Regions from separate parts of the Homo sapiens genome. Here regions 1 and 3 are each linked to region 2. Evidence: promoter capture Hi-C in 16 types of primary human blood cells and fetal thymus (Javierre and others, 2016). All regions are on one chromosome and are shown on one strand. Each heading gives the region's core, a stretch centred on a gene start or on the middle of the fragment in contact. The rest is flanking DNA. Distances are from core to core; before and after follow the strand shown. Region 1 overlaps GPRIN3 (GPRIN family member 3). Region 2 holds the start of CCSER1 (coiled-coil serine rich protein 1). Region 3 overlaps GPRIN3 (GPRIN family member 3).

Evidence for each region. The method cuts DNA at HindIII sites, captures the fragments that hold promoters and counts their contacts. A CHiCAGO score of 5 or more calls a contact.
Region 1: a contact is called between a fragment that was not itself captured here and the fragment with the promoter of CCSER1 in region 2, in 1 of 17 cell types (total B cells). The highest score is 5.7, in total B cells.
Region 3: a fragment that was not itself captured here is called in contact with the fragment with the promoter of CCSER1 in region 2 in 1 of 17 cell types (monocytes); the score reaches 5.6 in monocytes.

What each region holds. Positions count from the first base shown.
Region 1 is chr4:89,296,297-89,301,039 of GRCh38, reverse strand. The region is part of intron 1 of GPRIN3 (GPRIN family member 3); the gene reads left to right. Among named protein-coding and RNA genes, the nearest start is that of GPRIN3, 9.1 kb to the left of the region's middle. The HindIII fragment of the contact is 1,806 bases long and covers 415-2,220 here.
Region 2 is chr4:90,126,092-90,130,568 of GRCh38, reverse strand. CCSER1 (coiled-coil serine rich protein 1) reads right to left here and starts at 3,175. Exons shown (of 11, transcript NM_001145065.2): 1 at 2,738-3,175. RefSeq lists silencers at 2,058-2,307, 2,418-2,617. The HindIII fragment of the contact is 6,776 bases long and covers 1-4,477 here.
Region 3 is chr4:89,280,176-89,284,860 of GRCh38, reverse strand. All of the region lies in intron 1 of GPRIN3 (GPRIN family member 3), which reads left to right. Among named protein-coding and RNA genes, the nearest start is that of GPRIN3, 25 kb to the left of the region's middle. The HindIII fragment of the contact is 902 bases long and covers 1,454-2,355 here.

The sequences.
Region 1 (4,743 bases), core at 68-2,567, 830 kb after region 2:
CTTAAATTTATACTTAGTCATATTGTTAATTAAGCATGCCTTTCTTTGAATTTTTCTATAAGGTATTTCTCCTTGAAAAATGCAGGTAAAAATGAAGCAGCTAAAATTGTAATTGTTAATTAAAATTAAGAATTTTAAATTCCAGTAAAAATTTTAGTCAGAGCTAAAGTTAGTAAATGCATGTTCATTTTCACCTGCATCCTTGGTTGGGTAAAAATTGCTTATGACAAAGTGGGTATGGGTGATTGTTCTTGTTTTCATGTCGAACATGTTCTGAAAACAGTCAGAGAGCAGAAGTCTATCATTGTCAGGGTAAGGGGCTGAGCTCTGATTAAGTGAGTGAAAATGCACTTACAGTCTCCTTTCATATGAGGGATTGTCTACCCAAGTGGATTCTCAGAGCAGAAGAAAGCTTTGCTGTGAGCATCTGAGAGACCTGGTACTCTTCACTTTACCTGTCTGGGCCTCAGATTTGGAGATATATGTACCAAATCAGAATTGAAAACTGGCAGTCTGTGGGCCTAGCAGGAAAACTGTGGCCTCCAGGTATTTATTTTTTAATTAAGCCAGTGTTTAAACATCAGATCTATTATAAAAAATGAAGCCCTCACCCACATTCTCTAGGCTGGAGCTGAACAGCAATATATATGCTACTTCATTACTTCGCTGTAGTCCCCACTTCTCAATGTCTCACTGACATTGAGCATTTATATAAGTCACTTGTGCCCAACAGCTTCACTTAGTTGTGTTACTACCCCAAACCTGTAGGTATTGAGTCTGTAAAGTCTGGACTACTTAGGTGTTCCCTAAGTACCATTGAGCTCCAAAATGCTATGACTGTACTCATGAAATTGATGTGTCTACAAAGCAGAAAGGTGATGGCGCCAAATATAGTTAACCCCCATTAACCATGGTGAGGGTCTAAAAATTTTGCAGTATCAAAATTTGTAGAGTCTGTGAAAGTTTAATGAATAAAAATTGAGTTAACGTAGTCTGTTAAAGAATAACGGAGTTTTTCATCTGTGTACTTGCTTGCTTTTTACTGTACGACAAGTGGCAAATGAAAAATATTAGCAGTTTTAACAATAATGTAATTTATTTTTTCTTTACCTTAAAGACCAATGACTGAGATCTCACATTGGATTGCTTTATGTATTTTTAAATGCACCATATCTTTATCTTATGTATAACTTTTTACACATAGACCAAACTTGCATAGCTTCCTGAAAGTCCAGAGTGTATCTCAATCTTTCAAGTGATGCTGCATTTTATTTAGCAGGCCTGGCAGTTGAGATAAACTTTCAGGAGTAGTATCAACTCGTATCCCAGCTTGTGTTTCTGTATAGCCTGGAAATGCTCAGTTAATGATTACAGTAGGCTGTGTTTGCAACCCCTCTCTGAGGCTAGGCAGATCACTGCACAGTCTGGCCACTTGATTGTGTAGAACTGCTCCGTTACTATGGCTAAAAAATGAGGTGACTGCATCAGGGTTGATTTATTCATGTTGCAAATAAAGACAAATGCCCTTTTGGGGCAACAAGATGGAAAACTCAGACAGATCTCTTCGGTAGGGAAAGCTGTCTTCATAGCGCTCTGAAATCTCTCATGCCTTGTCAACTTCTCCTGCCACTTTCCTTCCTCATGCACACTTGCTGCATACCACCCCCACTTCGTGCCTCCTACTTTATTTCTAAAAACATCCCCTCATCTAATTATTAATCCTAAAGTGTCGGTGTTTCAACAGCTTCACTCCGAGAAGACAGTGCCGAGAATAGTACCAATCGAAACTAACAGAGGACACAGTGCCACATTGACTCTATGCTTTCTTTGAAGAGAGTGGCATTTCCTTATAGAATGGTGGCTGTGTTTAAGTATCAAGCGTCCTGTCACCTGAAATGGGTTGATAATATATAAAAGACCATAGGTGTTAAAAGTCTTTAGAGATAAAGTTATTTTTCTGAAAGTGCCATTTAAAACACAAATTTAGTTCACTGAAATGTTTATGCTCTTTTACGAAGAAACTGTTCTGCTATTCCCCTGGTGGCTATTTTGATGTTTAGAACTATAATGATAGGTTTTTAAAAAATCCTCCCTCTGGGGTTTGTGGCTTTTGAGTGATGAAATCTGAGCCTCCGAGAGGGAGGGGAAAAGTTAATAACCTGAGCTGGACTGGATTGAGAGCATGTCAGCTCCTTCTACTTTGCAAATTGAATCAAAGCTTTCCTCCAACTGGAAATAGGAATTTATTTAGGAGGTGAGAGATAGAATGTGAAATGGAGTTGGCAGAAGGCCCTGGTTTAAGAAAGGTGAATTCTTTGGATCATTTAATAAATCTGTATCGAGCACTTGAGATATATATATATACATATATATATATGTATGTATGTAAAACCCTGTTTTGTGTGCTAGGGACTCAAAATTGAATAATACATAGTCTGAACTCTCAAATAATTCCCAGACAACGGGAATAAGCTTAGTAATAAATATAGTTCAACAAAATTAGAATGGGCTCTTTTCCTGGTCATGATCTCAGAGAATTCCCCTGGTAGCCTAACAACCTGGGTCCCTCCTCTGTCCTAACCAAGCAGCCCTGTACCTCTTTCTTCCTTCCTGTATGCTGAGCAATTCAGCTTCATTTCCGTTCCTCTTCACAGCTTCACCACCTGCTTGCCACACCTGGGTTCCTTTCCTCCCTGCCAGGCTAACTTGAAAACTGTATGTCTTTCCCATACTCCACTTCCTTAATGTTGTAGAAAATAAAGTCACAGACACATGCATTTTTGACTTAGTTCTCCTAAAAACAACTAAGAAGCAGAGGGTAGCAGAAGTGACAAAAACGGAACAGATATAAGATGTAGAATTCTTACAAGAGTCTGCTGGTATGTGTACTACGAGAAATTTCTTTCTCATGAGGATACCAGAACCTCAGTGTAACTTCATTTCCATTTTTTTCCTATTTAAGAAAATATCCACACATGCCAGTGAAATGAGTGAGAGTGACATTATTATAGAAATAACTTGATTTTTGAGGTTAATATAATTCATTAGAGAAAACAGCTCTAAATTATACTTTAATAAATAATTTGCTGTCATTGGTACTTTATCATTGCTCATAAATTGTTTGTGATACACAAGTGTATTTTAAGACTGCTTAAGGGCCGCTGTTTTAGATAATTGCTTAGACTCTCAGGAAGCTCTTCCACCCTTGGGGAATGATCTTGAGTCAGATCATTATTGGGGAATGTACCCATTCCAATGGGACTGTAAATACCCAGCTATTTATGTAGCTGCTCTGTGAAATATCCCATGCCTTCTGGCTATCTTTTTATTCTGAGGAGGTGCTCACCACTCTCCATTGGTCTCCCTCTCCAGGGCTTCAACCTTGGAAGTTTAAGTGGTAATTCATGCCTCTGAAATGCCTAGTAAGTGATTCCATCTCTGTGTATTTGCCCTGACTGGGAGGAGAACCTCCTTTGCCTTGGAGCGCAGAGACTGGTGGTGTAGGGGAAATAAAAGAAAAGAGATGGAGCCTCAATTATAGAATTAATGATGATGAGTGGAAAAGAATGAAAGACCAACTAAACACATGCGGGAAGAGGGTTTAAAATTCATTAAAGAATGAACAAGAAACAAAACAAAACAAAACAAAACAAAAAAACACTTGAGGCACTTTGCCATCTTGATTCTAGAGCATAAGAGAACCCTAATACATGTCTCCATATATATCCATCTACTTTCCAAAGGAAATGAGTGAAGGCTAGATTACAGATATGTATAAATCCTTAAAAATTTTATTCTTCAGGCTTATCTGCCAGTGACGTCTTGCTAAAACCACTTCTCCTTTAAAGAAATCTCTGAGGTTTGTACTACTAAATAATAACACATTAATAATTCCCCATTCTAGAGATGAGGAAATAGATAGCATAACTTGCCCAAAGTCCCACAGATGGTAATGGAGCTGTGTGAATTCAGTTGTTCAATGTCAAAGGCCATGAGCTTCACCACTATGCTACACTGCAGGACTCTGTTGGTGATGCAAATCACAGTGGGTCAAAATGTAAGGACTCAGTACGATTTTATGGACTTCTGTCTTCTATCTTGGATTTCATCTTGTGTTGCTTAAAAAGCAAATGTGAAAGCTTCTAAATGAGCAATAAGACATTTAAAAAAACACAGGGTGAGTTCAAGGACAGATATTTTAGGTTAAAATTTTATAGATCATTGCATAGGTGATAACATTGGCAAACATAAATTTTATCAAAATACCAGGTAACACATATGTTCAGCAAATAACATTTCTTTGTTTCTCAAAAGAAAAACCAAATGTGTTTCTTATGTCACATGTGTGTGCACACCCACACACATACATATGCACACACACACACACAAACAAGAAAAAACAAACATGTGTCTTTATTTAACTGCCTATGGACTTTGGACCTAGAAACTATTTATAGAACTAGTGTTTCCGTGATTGATGTTTTAATCATAGACATTCATTTACTTATGAAAGTTAAGCAATTCCTTATTACAGCTTACAGCTAAGTGTTCTCATTGCAAATGGAATACTAAGAAAAAAAAAGGTAATCCATGCACAGGAGGCCTATTTCAGACAAATTCCTTCTTAAAACTGTAGTTCTAATGAATTAATGGTACTCGGTAGGAGGATGAATATACCTGTCTGTCCATTTGGAAGGTGAAAATCCAATAACTGAAAAAAGCCGTGATTTCTGCCTTATTTTT
Region 2 (4,477 bases), core at 1,926-4,425:
AAAATATCCAGCAATATCTTAATTTATATCAAAACAAACTTATCTTCCCTTATATGTTCTTTTCTATTATTCCAGGAGACTTGCATCTTATACCTTATATTTTTCTTATCCACAATGTACTAATCCTGCTTATCCTTTAACATCAAGATCAAGCAAGTCTTACCCACCCCCGAAGCATTCTCAAACAAAATCCAGTATGAAATGTTATTGTCATGTTCTGAACTCCTGTAGTACTCATTAGACATGTAATCTCTTATTGTTACGGGTTGTTAACTCTACGCTCAAGCATGAGCATCAGATTCCTCCCACATGGCAAGTAAGTTCCTGAAAGACAGGGAACAAGGAATCTCCCGTTCCTCCCCAATGCCTAGACAGTAGTACTTTGCAAACGTTAGGCCCTTTATTATGAGCATTATGATGAGTAATAAAATGCAATAAAGGGTTGAATAACTATTACTGTAAAAATATAACAAATTTTTCATTTTCTACTTTGTTTTATCTAAATTAACATTCTATGGTATAAATAATGTATCTTTAAAATAATAAACAGTTGCTGATTCTCTTAACTGTCAAAAAACAAAATACTCATAAATAGGACTTTTAATGATTGCAATAATACAGTTCATCAATTACATTTTTTAATTCCCTATTATATCTATGTTCAAATAGTTTGGGATAGTTGAGGTAATAACCCTCCGAATGGGGTTCTCCATCTGAGTTCTAACCTAATATTTAAAGCTGCACATGCTTCCGTGTTGAAAATGTATTTCAAAGTAATATAAATCTAACAAAATCAAAATATCAAATCCTTAACTCTGCTTTGTTTTTCAAAGAACAGGACTGTTTAGGAAAGCAATAAAACAATACAAACAACAGTTGGTTTGTTTTGATCAAAATAACTAATTAATTTAAATGAAGACAAATCACTCTGACAATAGGTTGACCAACTTCTCTTTTTTCTCTGTGAAACTATTGAAAGTGTGGTTACAACATGGAATTTCAATATTTGAAAAACATTGTCTTGGCAGGCTTTTAGAGACATTTCAGTTTGCAATATTAAGGATACTGTCCTACTACTAAACCCAGTCACAGTTCTATAAAAGTACAGGTTGCTACTTTTAAGAGAAAACATTCATTTTATAAGCACCGTGACAGGCACTGTCCCAAGGCATCTTTAAGTTTCAAGTTACGTATCTGGAACATGTACCTGTTATAAAGCAAACAGAAAGAGAAACCAAGACAAATTATATTATAGCCTAGATTACCAGTATTTTAGGTCTTCCCTTAATAACCAGTTTTGAAGGAACCAGTGATAACTGACCCCCACCTAGGTGTCCTCTTATCCGTTTTCCCTAAGGCTGTTAATAAAACCAGCTTTACTTTAAACGTGTACACATTATTTTTAATAGTCCTTGAGGGGCAGAGAAGGGAGGATGTGTGTTACATTTCAATAGGAAGGTATTCAACTGTAAAGATTTCAGAAATGAAAGCTGTTGAAACCAAGTAGGTATTTTCTGACTTGTAAGTCCTACTGACTGCCTGAAAAGGTAAGAGGGGTGGAGAAGAGGACATAAAAACATTAAAGGGCAAAGAATCTGTAACTTCTAAGAAGTATTTTTTTCTACCTGTAAAAATATGAGTTTTTTTTTTACTTCATTTCATATTCCATGTCCCACGAGAGGAAGGGGAAGCATAATTGCTTCTAATTCTGAGGCAGGGAGAGGAGAGAGAGAGAGAGAGAAAGAGAGCAGTTCAGGATACACTAAAAGGAAACCCCAAGAAATTTCACAACTCTTTGCCATAAATAGCCTTTCTTCTCACTCTGGATACCTCCTCCTTTACATCAGCAAGGCTCAGCCTCCACGCACGCAGAAGCACCATTCACAAATCCCTCCGTCACCCTTACCCCTTGCTGGCACCGTGTGTACGAGTCCCTGGGACACAAGCCAAAAGTCGAAGGGGCCAGGGGGCCACATGCGGTTTCAGCTTACGGCTGACTTTCTGCTCAGGTGAACCAACCCACTGGTTAGTCCAGAGCGCGCGCGCGCGCGCACACACACACACACACACACACGCACACAACCTGGGGCCCTTGACGCTCCACCACAAAGCAAGTGGTTCAATCTAAGTCGCTGCCGTTACTGCTGCCTCTGGGCAGGGTCTTGCTTCCAATCCAGGAAACTGGCGCCAGAGGACAAGCAGGCGGAGGCAAGAGGTGGTCCCGGCCCCGCACTGCGGTTCCTCCGGGAGCCCCTGGCTCCCCGCCCCCTCCTCCCCTTCCCCCTCTTCGCCGCCGTCCCCGCCTCAGCACCCGCAGCCCGGGGCGCCAGCGCTGACCGGTCGCCTCTACCTGCGGGACGCGAGTGGCGAGGAAGGGGAGCGACCCGAAGCCTGCGCCAACTCTCGCCGCCTTGGCCAGCGCTCCGCATCGCCCTGGAGCGGCCGCCGCGGCCGCAGGCAGCAAACCACGCAGCAGCGTGGAGGAAATGGCCACGCGGCGCACTGGGAGTCGCGGGCCGGTGGTGAGCGAGCCCGCCCGCCTCCTTCCCACCCCGCCCGCAAGGCCAGGTCTCTGCGCCGAGCACGCCGGGCCTGGGCGCGCGCTGCTCGCAGGCGGCCCCGACACGGCGCGGTCACCTGCCGAGCGGTCATCCCCGCGTCCGCCTGCGGCCGGCCCCGCAAAGCGGCGACGCGACGCGCGACCCGCTGAGCGCTGAGGCACCAGGGGCGTTACTACCTTGAGGGCTCCGTGCGCTTGTTAAGGCTCCTCCCGGGCACTCAGGGATTTATGTCTTCGGGGCACGGGGGTGTCCTTCCTGGTCCCCCTCCTCTGCCCTCCCTCCCCTTCTCGGCTGTTGGGCTCCTCTCCACTCCCAGTTGCACAGAGTCCAGCTGCGTTATTTAATAATCCTCCTGCTCCTCCTGCCTGCGCCAGCGGAGCTGCTCTGCCCGAGCCACCGCTTCCCAGTCAGTCATGTTGAGACAGAGAGAGAGAGAGAGGAGAGGCGGATTGGCAGTAGGTCGGCGACTATTTGTGGTGAGGGAGAGAAGAGCAGAGCAAGAGGAGGGCAGGGGAGGGACGTGGGGAGGCGCTTCCAAGTGTGTGAGTGCGCGGAGTGTGACTGTGTGGGGAGCGCGAGATCCACCTCCCCGGCAGGCCGCGCTCCGGGGCTGTGAGGAGGGCGGGCCCAAGCGCGGCCTTTATACAAGGAGGAGTGTGGTGGGCTGGGCGGGGCGGCTTGGAGGGCGGTGCCCGGCCCACTGCGTCCGCCGGATTCCACGCACGCATCCTCTGGCATCGACGCGCGCACACCCACTGCTGGCCCGCTGCTGAGTTTTCATTTTAGGGGAAGCAGTATCCCACCGTGCTGACCTGGCCTTTTCCCCCAGTCCATCCTAGTGCTTATGTGGAGTTCAAGTGCATAGGCAGGTCAAGACTAAAGAATAGGGGAAGTCTGAAGAGACGTGAAGTGACTGCGGGGATGCTGGAAATAAATGCACTGTATTTCTCCTCTCCAAGGTTCCGATGTTATCTTTTTTCTCTTCCTCCTGTAAGGGAAGGAATTACCAGATTCTTTCGCCGCTTTTCCTTCTCACCCACACAATTCACATCCTGACAAGTGTCTTCATTCCTCAGTAACAAGAAAAGAAACCTAGCTTCTTTCCTTTAAGCAGGTCACACCTCCCAGGAACCATTTGCAGCAATCAATTCTGTAAGATAATGCAAGCACTGCGACTGTGTCCGAGAGTGGAACTTGTGTTCCTACAAGGAAGGCCCTACACAATACAGGCATTACAAGAGAATCAGCTCAATTTGACATCATTTGACTGATGGTCCCCTGGAGAAAATTTGCCAGTTTAGAAATCGAAAAGACTTTTGATGCATGGTTCTGTTGCCTACATAATTTATTTTCCCCTGATCCTCTCTCCCCTTGCACTGCCTCATTTCCTTTCAGGTTTACACTAAGTACTGAACTCTTTCCCATCCATCCCCTTCTTTATCTCCACTCCAGTATATTTATGCCTTTAGCAGGCAATACAGCAAATGTAGTGCATTTAATTCTGTGTGTGTGTGTGTGTGTGTGTGCGCGCGCGCATCTGTTTTTAACCCATTCTGGTAGAATGTAGGACCATTTCTAGGTAGAAAATGCATCCCCAATATTAAGTTTGTACGCCTAACATCACCTCCCTTACCTTCTGCCCAGATTACAAGATGTTGTGATCAGGTGCACTGAGGTATTGAGAAAAACTTCCAGAAATCAAGTGATCTACAGTTTTTTCAAGGTGTGTTTGTGTGTGCGCGTGCGCGTGCGCACGCTCTGTGTAATCTAACTGGCTATGATCTAACTTCTGAAATGTGGTTATATTGGGAATAAAAGCAAGATGTATTTTTTAAATGAATCTGAGTGGTCAATGTATATTACAGCATGGGGACAACTCTGCTTTTGGGAGACAATTATAGGAAACATTTTTCATA
Region 3 (4,685 bases), core at 655-3,154, 840 kb after region 2:
GTCTCATTCTCATTTAAACTATAATCTAAATGTCTTCCAAAGTTAGCTAGGCCTAGGCCTAAGTCCAAGAATAATTAAGGCAGCTTGAAAGCTAAAGGCAAGGAATGGGGAGTTGGGTTGGCTAGATCAGATCTCCCCCACTGCCATAATATTCTCACTGATATAATTTTTGCAAAGGCGATTTCAGGGTGAGAAAAGGGAGCTAGGGAAGGAGCAGTGGACTTGGAAGGTAGACCTGGTGGTGAGTTCCTGTTAGTAAGAAAGCCCAAGTAATTCTACTACCATAATCACTAATATTATTGCTGTTACTACTAGCTAACCTGTGTGCAAAACTCTCTTCTAAGAATGCACAACAATCCTAGAGGAAGGTGTTATTTTCATTCCTGGGTGGCAAGTGTTACAAACCTTAGGCACTGGGGAGTCAACTAATTTGCCTGAGGCCACACAGCTTGTAAGTGGCCAACCAGATGTGAACCTGAATAATCTGATCCTAGAGGCATTGTTAACCACTGTGCCTCTCACACAGTGAAATGTTTCCAGAAGGTAAGGGACAGTAATTCTGAATGGCTGGCAGTCCTCCAGCATGTGGTCTTCAGCCTCCTGTCTCTGTTCATGCCGTTCATTTGCTTTAGTGGCCTCTTCCACCCACCCATTCCTTCACCTGGCTGACTCCCCATCCTTCAGGGCATTCTGCCCAGCACACCTTTCCAGAATCCTGCTGAGGCCCTTACCTCACCAGCTTGTGGTGGGTACCCTGTGATACCATCTGTCATAGCGTTTACCTCAACACAGTTGCTTTTCTGCCTTGTCTTAAAACCTTGGATCCTTCCATTCTTTCATCCTTCGCATTCAATCAGAGGGCACAGCTGATTTGACCTCTTCAGTATTTCTAGGTCCATCCTTCCCTCAGTTCCTGCTGCCAGTGCCCTACTTCTCACAGTTTCACTTACAAAGCCCCCCGCAGTTTTACTTTGTCACACCCTTTAGCCCTATATCTTGCATCCGGAGCTGCAGCCATGCCAACTAAATATTGTTCCAGCCCCACCCCACCCTCAACCACTTCCCCAGTAGGCTGCCTGTATATCTATTCATGCTTGTCCATATGCACCTGAAATGCCCTTTCCTCCCCACTGGTGAAGTCCTGCTTAGTTTTCAAGGCAGCATTGCTGTTGCTTACACTCAGAGGCCTTGGGTGGGCCTTCTCTTAGATATGCCAGCATTGTGCACTCATAACACCCTATGCCGAGCTCTACCAAAGGGCTCACCATTATACCGTAGTCCAGTCTCCCTTTATGTTTCTGCCTCCCCCACTAGATATGAACTTCCTGAAGGTGAGGACTGGCAGATTCCACCCACCTTGTGTGTACCATGATCTGTGTGATTACTTACTATGTTCCTGGTATTTTTTTCCTTCCCTGTTTTGCAGCAGATCTCCACTGGTTCCCCGGAAGCTTTCCCTGATTGCAAAAGTTGGAATGAGTCATTCTTTTCTTGTGTTACCATTGAAATCTGTAGCAATGAAATCACCTTTCTGCCCAGTGGATGTGAGCTTCTGAAGGCAGGAATTGAGCCTTTGTGGCTCTCTAGAACCCACCACAGGCCTGGCACATTGTGTATGTTAAACAATTTGGGATAGCCTAAAAAGTAATGTTTAATGTTTGTGCTACATAGGCCTATTGTTCAGCTGCATGAATTGAGTGAATAAGAAAAATAATTACTCTGAAGGCCTGTCTTTACTTCCTCTCATAGCCCTCAATGAAGCAAGGGATTTTACAAACAAAACACTAAAGGCCTTGGCTATCTTTGTTAATATTAATAACAATCGGTCTTTTTAGGCCTGAACGTATGTGCATAGTGTTCTTATCACTTTCAGAAAAACATTCCTCCATTACCATCTGAGGGTAACATAATCGCATGTGTGGCAAGTCATCAAATTAGTGAATTCTTAAAAGTCCAAGTTATTATATCTTTATTAGGCAGATTTCCACAGATTTGTGAGGTCTTCGATGTAGACTCTGAGACTGTGATTCATAGTTCCCATGACAGCAAAGTGGGGATAGCTCTCTGAGCCACCTCGGGCCACGAAGAGGTAGTTTTTAGTGGGTAAAAATCCCATACTTCTGACAAGTGATTTGTCAGATTAATATTCTACACCAGGGTTGTCCAGTCTTTTGGCTTCCCTGGGTCACGCTGGAATAATTGTCTTGGGCAACACATAAAACACACTAACAATAGCTGATCAGCTAAAAAAAAAAAAAAAAAAAAATTGCAAAAAAATCACATATGTTTTAAGAAAGTTTACAGATTTGTGTTGGGCTATGTTCAAAGCTGTCCTGGACTGCATAAGGACAAGCTTGTTCTACACACTTTGGATCCTTCCTTTCCTAATGAGGCTTATAAATCTGTGAGTTTATCCCAATAATAGATGCACACCACTGAAGCAGGTGAGAGATTACAACCCCTTGAGGGTCAAGGTAACAAGGCATGTTGGAAACATTCCTGACTCCCAGTATCTTATTGTTTACAAAGGATATTTCTATTATTTAGATACTCATATGACATTGATTTTTGTTATAAACTACTATTCAAAACAGTAAAATAAATTCAAAGCAAATAATTCATGATTTGAGATAGGATGGACATAATTCTCATCATTGCTAGTGAATATAGTTAACTTCAGTAATAGAAATGGCTATTCTTTTATGTTACAGTAATTTTGTTGGCAATGCATTATACACGAAATAAAAATCACATTTCTTTAGAGGCATGTTAGCATTCACCAAACAATAACTGTACTTCTTTTTCTTCTTGCCAGCACCATGCAGGATACTGAGACTACCAGGCACCCACTCACTCTCTACAGTACTCTTACTAAAGAGACCAAAAAAAAAAAAAAAAGATGACTGCATAGCAATGCATTATAATAAAGACTTTAGAATGCAATGAGACAACAGAGGAAAGACTTGTAATTAAGGGGGAATGGTTTAGGGATGGGAAAGTGCAAGGAAGGCTTCCCATAGAAGAAAATGCTGAGTTGTGTTGAGATTATTAGCAATGCAAGAAAGAGTAGAGAGGGTATTTTAGTTTCCTAGAGTGGCCATAACAAAATACCACAAACTGGGTGGCTTAAAACAACAGAAATGTGTTCTGTCCTTGTTCTGTGGGCTAATCATCTGAGAACAAGGTGTCAGCAGGGTTAGTTCCTTCCAGTGGCTCTAAGGGATAAGTTGTTCCATGTCTGATATAGATTGGATCTGTGTCCCCGCCTAAATCTCATGTTGAAATGTAATCCCCAGTGTTGGAGGTGGGGTCTGGTGGGAGGTGATTGGATCATGGGGCAGATTTCTCATGCATGGTTTAGTACCATCCTCTTAGTGCTGTCTTCACGACAGTGAGTGACTTCTCTGTGAGAAGTGAGATCTGTTTAAAACTATGTGGCAGCTGGGTGCGGTGGCTCACACCTGTAATCCCAGCACTTTGGGGAGCCGAGGTGGGCAGATCACGAGGTCACGAGTTCGAGACCAGCCTGGCCAACATGGCGAAACCCCGTCTCTACTAAAAATACAAAAATTAGCCAGGTGTGGTGGCGGGTGCCTGTAATCCCAGCTACTTGGAAGGCTGAGGCAGGGGAATTGCTTAAACCCAGGAAGTGGAGGTTGCAGTGAGCTGAGTTCACGCTATTGCACTCCAGCCTGGGTGACAAGAGCGAGACTCTATCTAAAAAAAAAAAAACATGAAACTATGTGGGACCTTGCTCTCTGTCTTGCTCCTACTCTGGCTATGTGATGTGCTTATCCCCCCCCTTCACCTTCCAACATGACTGTAAGTTTCCTGAGGCCTCTCCAGAAACATAGCGGATGCCAGCACCACGCTTCCCATAAAGCCTGAAGAACTGTGAGCCAACTCAACCTCTTTTCTTTATAAATTACCCAGTCTCAGCTATTCCTTTATAGCAATGCAGGAATAGCCTAATACAATGCCCCTTTTCTAACTTCTGGTGGTTGCCAGCAATCCTTGGCATTTTTTGGTTAATAGATGCATCACTCCTATCTCTGTTTCAGTTTCCACAGGACTTTCTTCCCTTCTTGCTTGTGTGTCTGTGTCTATGTCCTAATTTCTTTCTTATAAGGACACCCATCATATTGGATTTAGGGCCCACCCTAACCCTGTATGACTTTGTCCTAACTTGATTATATCTGCAAAAACCTATTTTCAAATAAAATTACATTCACCGGTTCTAGGTGGACCTGAATTTTAGGGGACAGTGTCCAACACAGTAGAGAGCATTCAGGAAACAGGAAGCAGCTTGGAAGAAGGCAGAGAGGCCATGACATATTTGAGCAACCATTGATCCTTCCTTATGGTTGTATTGAAAGGCTCTGGAGGACCTAACAAGAGACATGAAGCTTAAGAGGCAACAGAAGCCTCATCTTACTTGTATGCCAAACTCAAGAATTTGAACTTCATCTTGAAATATGTGGGTACCATAAAAGGATTTTAATTCTGGGACTTGCATGATCATATTTGCATTTTAGAAAAATTTCTCCGGCAGCAATTTAGAGAATTGAAGAAGGTACAGATCGGAGGCAGAGAGATCAGTTAAGAAGGCTTATTTCTGGTAAGAAATGATAGAGCCTACATTATATCAGTAGGAAGACTAGAGAGGAGGTGGGTAGACATAGGAG